2 separate regions of the Homo sapiens genome follow, and region 1 is linked to region 2. Evidence: promoter capture Hi-C in 16 types of primary human blood cells and fetal thymus (Javierre and others, 2016). All regions are on one chromosome and are shown on one strand. Each heading gives the region's core, a stretch centred on a gene start or on the middle of the fragment in contact. The rest is flanking DNA. Distances are from core to core; before and after follow the strand shown.

The links. The method cuts DNA at HindIII sites, captures the fragments that hold promoters and counts their contacts. A CHiCAGO score of 5 or more calls a contact.
Region 1: the fragment with the promoter of TNFSF12 here is called in contact with the fragment with the promoter of CHRNB1 in region 2 in 6 of 17 cell types (total CD8 T cells, endothelial precursors, naive CD8 T cells and 3 more); the score reaches 8.1 in total CD8 T cells.

The regions. Positions count from the first base shown.
Region 1 is chr17:7,547,506-7,552,345 of GRCh38, reverse strand. TNFSF12 (TNF superfamily member 12) reads right to left here and starts at 3,288. Exons shown (of 7, transcript NM_003809.3): 1 at 3,034-3,288; 2 at 2,825-2,872; 3 at 2,151-2,226; 4 at 1,494-1,547; 5 at 1,368-1,403. The coding sequence starts at 3,192. It overlaps TNFSF12-TNFSF13 (TNFSF12-TNFSF13 readthrough), which reads right to left and starts at 3,288. Exons shown (of 11, transcript NM_172089.4): 1 at 3,034-3,288; 2 at 2,825-2,872; 3 at 2,151-2,226; 4 at 1,494-1,547; 5 at 1,368-1,403. The coding sequence starts at 3,192. RefSeq lists silencers at 3,094-3,173, 3,204-3,393. The HindIII fragment of the contact is 9,939 bases long and covers 1-4,840 here.
Region 2 is chr17:7,442,799-7,447,453 of GRCh38, reverse strand. It overlaps CHRNB1 (cholinergic receptor nicotinic beta 1 subunit), which reads right to left and starts at 2,393. Exons shown (of 11, transcript NM_000747.3): 1 at 2,269-2,393; 2 at 2,045-2,184; 3 at 1,341-1,385; 4 at 512-621; 5 at 303-411. The coding sequence starts at 2,326. FGF11 (fibroblast growth factor 11) reads right to left here. Exons shown (of 5, transcript NM_004112.4): 5 at 2,517-4,378. The coding sequence ends at 4,308. RefSeq lists a silencer at 2,272-2,321. The HindIII fragment of the contact is 9,289 bases long and covers 1-3,307 here.

The DNA.
Region 1 (4,840 bases), core at 2,039-4,538, 100 kb before region 2:
AAAAAAAAAAAAAAAAAAGCCATCCATATGGCCATGACTCCTGGCTTTATCCGTCCTGACCTAGCCTAAGCTAGTCGACAATGTCCAGCCATCCATTTCTGGAATTTACTTTATTGTCATTTATCCGCTTGTTTATTTTAGACTTCTCAACGTTAATAATTATCTTACATACTTCCCAACCTATTTATTCCTTGGTCAATCCCTTCTTAGGAAATGGCATCATTCTTCCCAGAGATACCCAAGTTAAAAATCTAGAAGCTGGCTGGGTGCAGTGGCTCATGCCTGTAATCCCAGCACTTTGGTAGGCCGAGGCGGGCAGATCACTGGAGGTCAAGAGTTTGAGACCAGCCTGGAAAACATGGCAAAACCCCATCTCTACTAAAAATACAAAAATTAGCCAGGCGTGGTGGCACACGCCTGTAATCCCAGCTACTTGGAAGGCTGAGACGGGAATCTCTTGAACCTGGGAGGCAGAGGTTGCAGTAAGCCGAGATTGCACCACTGCACTCCAGCCTGGGTGACAGAGCGAGACTGTCTTAAAAAAAATAAAAAATCTAGAAGTCATCTGTGATTCCTCCCTTTCTTTTATTCTTCACCTCCAACCCATAAGTCAGTAATATCTTCAGGACACAGGCTGAACCCATCCACTTCTCACCATCTCTGCTGTGAACCCCTCGGCTGAGCACTCCTCATGCCTCCCTGCCTCTCACAGTGGAAAGACATTCTGGTGAGGGGGATGGTATGTGCAAAGTCCAGAAGAGGCACACCGGGAGCAGGGGTGTCAGCGCAGCAAACATGAAGACAGCATAAGAGTGCAGGGAAATTAGGTTGAGACCAGACCACGAAGAGACTGGAAGCCATGTAGAGAGCCAATACCACAAGAAAAGTGAAGTTTAGGGGCTCAGCATGGCAGCACAGGTCAGATGGAGTGGAGGGGTAGGGAGGGTGTGGAGTGGGGAAGCAGCAAGAGGCTGGATTTGAGGTTCTGAGGTCACGGTGCTGAGGTAGAGGGTGGGGTAGAAATGGAAAAGATGAGCAGACACTAGCAGCATTTAGAGAAAAAGATCATCAGAACGTGGAATATGGAGGAGACAGAAGAAAAAAGAATGAAAAGTGCTTCTTGGAGAAGAATGAGGGCTGAAGGAGAGAGCTGGGACAGTGATTTGCTGGGGGAACTGGGCAGAGTTCTGGGGAAGAGTAGGGGTCTTTCATGGGGTCCCACGCCTGGGTCACAGAGAGAACCAAGACCTTCATGAACTGGCTTCTGTGGTTCTGAGACTGATGGCCGGGAAGGGAGTGGGAGGTCAAAGGTTTTCAAGGGCCCTTTTCCCAGGAGGCCAGTGCTGTGTCGGGGGATGGGGTCTCACCTGCCTGCGCTCCGTCCTGTCCAGGTCGTGGATGAACTGTAAAGTACAGGAAAAGGCTGGTGAGACCTGCCCTGACCCTCTGCCACCTGCCCCTCTCCTCCTGGGTATGGCTCACCCATCACCCACCTTCATAATGGGCTGCGATCGCTCTTCGAGCCCGTGTTTTCCGGCCTTTAGGTGCTGAGGATCAAGGAAAGACAGATGAGCAAAGCGGGCCCTAGTGGGGGTCCCAGAGCAACTCTCCCAGCCCCATTCCCCTCTCAGGAACCCTGGCATCCTTATTCTTGTCCAGACTCCTGGCCTTAGAATCTCAGGCCTCATCTTCCTCAGTAAGTAGAGTGACTATAATTTGTCATCCACACTGGGATACTGCTGAGAGCAAAACGGGAAGCTGCTATTAATCACACCGAGATAACAGGTGGGGGCCAGGACAACTGCATGCCGACTTGGACACGTGGTCATCCGGCCACCCCATCATCCCATTCCTAAGTCTCTTTGCCTACCGGGGCCCAGGCCTCTGACTGCCAGGCCTAGTCTCCATCAGGATCCCAGTAGTTCTTCTAACTCATGGCCACCCTGCCTTCCTGTTTGGGGTAGGGTCTGAAGGAGCACATCCATATGACAGAAGGAGCTTCAGAGGAGGGCGAGAATCCCTAGGTTTGAGTCTTGGCTGGTTAGCTGCATGACTCTGAACTCCTTTCACCCTCCGTGCCTCAGTTTCTCCCTGTGGATAATGGTTTTTGCTCTGCCCGCTTCCTGAGGTTGGGATAGAGGGATGCTCACCACTTCTGCGAGGCCGAACTAGTCGGTTCAGGAAAGGCGCAGGATCCTGGCTTTCTTCTGTCTGGGGATTCAGTTCCTAGGGGAATTAGGGCAGGGTTCAACCACAGACTCCCAGAGATATAAAGTGAGACATACGGGGCCTGTCAGGAGAGCCACCAGCCAGCAATAGACACAGAAGTCAGGGACAGATTAAGCCCCTCAGCCAACTACAGCTGGGGCCCCGGGCAAAGGTGAAGCTGGGAGTCAGGCCCCAGTCCTCACCCTTTCCTCTAGACCAGCTACACTTTCCCACCCACACACACAACCAACGCAGACCCTGCATTCAATTGGCACATTGCACACATGCCCGCACCCAGTCACCACGCACAGAGGATACACACCCTGTACACAACCGCACCCCTCTTCCACGCAGACTCACATATCTTATACAACCACGTCACCCCCAGCCAATAAACACCTCAGACTCAGGTGGCACAACCCCAGCACAAACCCCTCACACAGAGTTGTCACCACGCACACACACCCCTGCAGACACGCACCCATGCACGCACTGTGTTCACACACACCCTGCACACACCTCGAGTACGGCTGGCACAGCTGCACACACCTGCAGCCTCGGCTGTGCACACTTCCCATGCCCCAGCAGCCTGCAGACCGCGCCCACGCCCACTCACCGACGGGTCCTGGTCCTCCTCTGCCACCAGCTCCTCCTGGGCAGGCTCCTGCTGGGAAGGAGGGAGCGTCACCCTGTGCCGCTCCACCTGACATCTCACCCTCCACCCATCCTCCCTTCCCCTTGCCTTCAGCCCACGCGGCCCCCAGCGGCCCCTCTGCAGTCTCAGCTCCTGATGTGCCCAAGAAGGGGTGCGCAGCGGGGCCTCACCTGGGCGGACAGCGATGCCCGGCTCCCCAAACTGACCACGGCCAGCAGGAGGCCGAGGCAGGCCAGCGCCAGGCCCAGGCCCAGCGCGAGCGGGACCAGCAGGGCGGTGCCCGGCTCCCCCCGGCGCCCCCTCCGCCTCTGGCTCCGACGGGCGGCCATGGGGGCGGGGGGCTGTGCCTGCCTCACCGCCCCCCCATCCCGGGACCCGAGGGATCGGGGGAGGGGGAGCCGGCGGGCGGATCGGGCCGGGGAGAGGGAGGGGCAAGGGAAACGGGGCGGGAGGGGGCGCTGGGGACAGGAAGCCGGACGCTGTGTGTGATCAAACTCCGAGCCTCTCGCCGGGCGCTGTGCGCGCAGCGAACGGAGTGGGCGCCCACCCGACCTCTGAGCGCCCAGCCCGGGCGTGCACCACCAGGGCGAGGTCCGTTGCGTGCGGCCGCGGGAGCGACGGGGCTATGCGTGTGCGGGCACCTCCTGCGGGGAGGTGGGGAACTCAGGAAGGCCTGTTGGTTCAGATTCTTCTGTGTCCCTGTGTCTTCAGAGATAAGGACCCTCCTTTCCCCCAGGTGCAGGGAGGGCGCCTCTCGCAGGAGGCTGTTATTTGCTTCTTCAGGAAAAGGGCAGGGAGTTCCAGGTTGTATGACCTGGTTCAGGGAAGAAGGGCAGGAGAAGGTAAGAAAGATCCTTCGGCTTCTGCGGTTTTCTCAAATTCCTTCAGCTTAAAACACTCACTGTGCCGGTAGCACGTTCTGAAGCCCATCATTACCAATGATTGCCAAGCATCTGAGGAGGACCAGCAGCATGCAAAAGAAACACCAAAATTGGTCCGGCAGGTGGCTTACGCCTGTAATCCCAGAAGGCCAAGGCTGGGGGCCAGGAGTTCAAGATCAGCCTGGGCAAGAGCAAGACCCCATCTCTACAGAAAAGTTTTAAAAAATTAGCCCACGCCTGTAGTCCCAGCTACTCAGGAGGCCGAGGTAGGAGGATTGTTTGAGCCCAGGAGTTTGAGGCTGCAGTGAGCTGTGATTGCACCACTACACTCCAGCCTGGGCAACAGACCTTGTCTCAAAAAGAAAGAAAGAAAGGAAGAAAGAAAGAAAGGAGGGAGGGAGGGAGGGAGGGAAGGAGGGAAGGAAGGAAGGAAGGAAGGAAGGAAGGAAGGAAGGAAGGAAGGACCAAAATTGGCTGGGCGCGATGGTTCACGCCTGTAATCGCAGCACTTTGGGAGGCTGAGGCGGGTGGATCACGAGGTCAGGAGATCGAGACCTGCCTGGCCAAGATGGTGAAACCCTGTCTCTAATAAAAATACAAAAAAATTAGCCGGACGTGGTGGCAGGCGCCTGTAGTTCCCAGCTACTCGGGAAGCTGAGGCAGAGAATTGCTTGAACCCAGGAGACAGAGGTTGCAGAGAGCTGAGATCACGCCACCACACTCCAGCCTGGGCAACACAGCAAGACCCTATCTCAAAAAAAAAAAAAAAGAAAGAAAGACCAAAATTAACAAACAAAATTTGACATTGGAGGAAACAGAGATAATTCAGGATACAAAGAGTACTACCTAATATACTTAAAGAGAGTCAAGAAAAAGCATCCATAGAGCTGGGCATGGTGGTGCATGCCTGTAGTCCCAGCTACTCAGGAGGTTGAGATGGGAGGATCACCTGAGCCTGGGAGGTTGAGGCTGCAGTGAGCTGTGATCACACCACTGCATTCCAACACGAGCAACAGAGTAAGACCCTGTCAAAAAAAAAAAAAAAAAAAAGAGTATGCAAAGAAAGAAAAGCAGTTAGAATCTCCAGAAAATTTTC
Region 2 (4,655 bases), core at 1,144-3,643:
GGTGGAGTTTGGGAGGTCTTTGGGGAGGGCACAGAGAAGGGAAATCATGGAGGAATTGGAGGGTTATGAAGGGAAGCCATTAATGGGGGAGGGATGGGGAGGGCGGTCACTGAGTAAGACTAGAAGTCAAAGAAAGTGTACAGAACACTCAATGGAAAACCAGGAGGGTAGACGAGGTGAGGGTCATGGGGATTAGATAATGGGGGAAGGATGAAGGATGGGAGTCGCCGGGGAGTCAGGATGTCTAAGGAAAGGGAGGATTTGTAAGAGCTCCTTCAGCTTCCAATGTGGAGGCCGGAAACCTGGATGCTGCAGCTGCTGCGATAGATGCCCGGGGGTTGCCAACGCACGGAGCCGTCGGAGGACACCACGACGCTAATGTCCAGAGCCACGTCAAAATTCCCATCATTGCTGCAGAGAAGGGATCTCATCAGGGATCAGGCCCCGCGCCCGGAGGCCCCCCGCCCCCCGAGGCCCCGCGCCACCTCCCGGGCTTTGGAAGTTCTCCTACTTGTTCAGTAGCACCACGTCAGGGAGCCACACGGATTCCGCCGTGATGCGGAGCGAATCGATGCCGTCGTGCTCCGCAGGGTCCCAGCTCAGCCTGTAGTCAGTCCACTCCTAGTGAAGCAGAGGCTGAGGGGCTGCCCCGGGTTGGAGGCCGGGAGGGACTTGGGATTTCCAAAGGAAGCCCAGGAAGGGAGTGCAAGGAAGGGGAGCAGGACAGGCATAAACTGTGGGTCAAGGGGCCGTGGTTCTGGCTCTGGCTCCGCCTTCACTCGCTGGGATCCACATCAGCTAATTTCCCTCCCCCGCACCGGGTTTCAATATTTTACTCTGTAAAAATGAGGAGGCTGCAGTAGCTAGCCTCTAAAACGGTTTTCAAACTGCAGTTCGCAATCCTTTAGTGGATGGGGAATGAAATTAGCGGCCCCAAACCAGTGTTTCAAAAATTAGAATGGGCCAGGTGCAGTGGCTCACGGCTGTAATCTCAGCACTTGTGGAGGTTCCCCCCGAGGCTGGTGGATGGCTCGAGCCCCCGCATTCAAGAACAGCCTGTGCAACATAGTGAGACCGCATCACACACACACACACACACACACACACACACACACACACACACACAGACACACACACACACACACACACAAAATTGGAATTAAAAATGCATGGGGTGTAACTCCTGTAGTAAAGTTAAGTGTTGTTTCTTCGAGCTTTTGCTTCAGTTATAAACGTGTTATCTAAAGTCATGATGTAAAAAATATTCTTACTGGGCTGGATATTCAAGGAAATTGTCAAGGCAGAGGGAAGCCCTTTCCCACCCCGTGGGGTCTCCATACCAGGTCTAAGTACACCTTTGTGCTCATCTCTTCATCCTTCTCGTTCTAGAAGGGAAAAATTTAAGGCGTAAAGGTGAAGTAGGGTGGAGAGAAATGAGGGGGCTCGGGGGGCCAACCTCTCTCCTGGGAACGCCGCCCCCTTTTTCTGAGCCCCATCCTCTCGGGTCCAAGTCCACCTCCCAGAAGCGGCGTTAGTTTAAGACCTGCCTCTATCTCAGAAACACCTCTTCCTGCCGTCTACACTCCCAGCCTATCAACCTACCAGACCCGCCCCTGCCTAGCCCTCCGCCTAGCTCTGTCCCCGGCCCTGCCTTCAGCTCATAATCCACCCAGCCCCGAACCTCCACCCGCTGCCATTTATTGACCCCTGAGCACCAAGCTCCGCCCCACCCTGGGCACTCAGGACTCATGTGGCCCTACGTCGAGGTCCGTCCCCCAGCCCCTGCCTCGTCCCCAGCCCCACTTTAAGGTCCGATCACAGGTCCGTCCTTCACCCTACCCAGTTCTACTCCAGGCCCGTCCACCACCCACGGCCAGAGCTTGTCCATTGGTCTGATTTCGATCCAATCTTCACCAAAGGCTGGTCCATCTCAGCCTGGTCTCGTCCCAGGCCCCGCCCCCAGCCTGTCCCTGGTCCGGCCTTGCCTAAAGCCACGCCCCCGGCCGGTCGGCTGGCCTGACCTCCACCCCCCGCGCGCCCTCACCAGGCTGATGAGTTGCGCCAGGATGAGACCAACGCTGACCCTGACACGGTCTCCCACCTCCCGCGCTGGCCGCACGGAGCTATCATAGCCAGAGAAAAGTTTCTCCCGGAGTCGACCCTCCGCCTCCGAGCCGCGGACGCCTGGGGGAGGAGAGAATAAGTGCAGCCCTGGTGCCTGGCCACGACCGCTGGCCCCGTCACTGCCCCTTCGGGGCCTACACTTACCTGGGGCGAGCGGCGCCCCCAGCGCCCCCAGCAGCATCAGCAGAGCCCCTGGGGTCATAGCCTGGCGGCTCGCTCAGTGACTTCGCTCAGAGAGCCGCTGGGACCGCCAGCACAGGGGAAGTGACGAGGAGCCCGGGAATGTGCACCTGTTGCTGGAGGACAGCCGCCAGCCCACCCGCCCCGCCCCCGGGACTTGATCCTGCCTCGAGCAACTGCCAAGCCCGCCACCGACAGATGACAGACAGCACTTCAGTTGTATAAATCGTCTTTAATTGAGAAAGCTGGAGTGGAGACCCGATCCCCTGGGAGCAGTGCCAGGAGTTGGGTGGAGACTGAGTGGGGTTTGTGTGGGTGAGGGGGCATCTACTCCTCTTGCAACAAGCCAGAAGTAGAACAGCCTAAGGAAAAGTGACCTGCCTTGGAGCCTTAGTCCCTCCCTTAGGGCCCCCTCAGCCTACCCTATCCAAGTCTGAGGCTATGGAAGTCTCCCTCCTAGTTCACTAGCAGGTTCCCCATCTTTTCCAGGCTGCCCCTAGCACTCCACGTTTTTCTGAAAAAATCTAGACAGGCCCTTTTTGGGTACCTAAAACCCAGCTGAGGTTGTGAGCTGTAAGGTAAAGCAAGTTCTATCCAATTAGAAGCTGTTGGGGCGTATGAGGTCTGGAGTGCAAGAGGCCTTCACCCTTCTTGGCCTGACCTGTAGGGGAGAAGGGTGAGACTTATTGCTGAATTGGGGTCTCCTCACTGGGAGGGTCAAGGCTGTATCCATTTGTCCTTTTTATTAAGGACATATTACTCTAAGGACCTCAGCTTTAAAGGGGACCTGGAAGGAATTCCTGCTGAGGTAGCTAAGTATTCATGTCCACCCAACACAGATGCAGGTTCAGTCATGCCATAATTTTGACCCCTCCCCCATCCCAGCTTCCCTACTATGAGCCAGGGATCCTTCCAAAATTCCTCTGCCCTTCTCCAGACTCTGTCTCCCTGGCACGACCTCAGCTGGGTTGAAGGAGCTAGAAACTGCATGTAAAAATAAGCTTAGCATTCTATATGGAAGAATCATATTTTTAGAGAATTATCTAGGAAAAACAAGAAATGGTTCTTGATTCATCCAGAAGTGTTTTTATGAATCATAGCTGGGTCTTTTCCAGAACTCATCCGTAATAGGTATCACTCAAGAAGGCGGGAGGGTGGGGCTAGAACTTACTTAGAACAATAATATGGCTATACAGGCCCCAGCTCCATCCTGGGTAAAAGGGCTGAGAGTCATGATCTATGTCCTAGAGCTAGGATTCAGGGGGAAGTACGGCTCCATAAAGCTCTAGAATTGGGTGTCTCTGGGATAAGAAGGTTAAACCCGTGGTCATCTGAGACTGGTTCCGGTTCAGGCCAAAGCCAACAGCTAGACAAGGCCCAAATCTAGCCTCTTTCTACTTGGAAACCAGGGGTCCATCTGAGTCAATGACAGAGGCCTGACAGATCCAGAGAAAAGGCTGGCAGCATGCCTGGGTTCCAGCACAGAGCCCTAGTGCAGAAGTGGCCCTGGCGAGGGTGTCCAGTGTTCCAGAATGTGTCCAGACCAAGGTAGAAGGTAGAGTAGGGAAAGAAGGACACATGAATCCTGAGCTCCAGTGAATCTAGAAATGGCTCAGTGGCAATGAAAAGGGGCACAGGACTCCAGGAACTGGCTGAGCCGGGGTGGGAAGTGTTTATGCCCTGGCTGTCCATGTGGGAACTCCCAGCGCCATCTCAGGAAAAGGCATGGCGTTGTGTGAGTGTGGAAAGAAAGAAGTGATCAGCCAGGACCATCTTCAGACATCCCCCTCTCTGACTCCCTCCTAGGCCCAAAGATCTAAGGGTCTCAGCAGCCTCGGAAGTCACAGTCAGCCCCTAGGCTCCCTCAGGGTAGAGCACCTAGTGGGACCTGGCTGCTCAGGGCATGTGTGTGGCAGCAGGGGTGAGAGCAGGACTGGGAGACAGGTTGTGGTGGTGGCTGGCTCACTGGGAGTGCAGGGAACCTCCAGTCCAGGGACTACATTTCAGGGGGCAGGGGGACTGGAAGGGGAGGCCTCGGGGACACTGTGGAGAGAAGGCTCCTGGTACATGGCCACTGTGAAGGGGAGAAAGAGAGGAGCAGGGAAGGAGAGTTAGGCACAGAGGGACCCAGGCAGAACCAGTGCTCCAAAAGGGCTCCCTTCCCGTACATTCACCCTCCAAGAACCCCAACCCCACAGGAGGACCGCACCCAAACCCCCAAAGGGCAAAGCCTTCCTGGCTTGATCTGTCACAAAGGGTCCTCTTATCACTTGTAGCCTGAGCTGTCTGCCCCTAAATGTCCATATCAAGGTCAATACCCTCTCCTGTGGCCCACATTTTCTTGAGTCTAT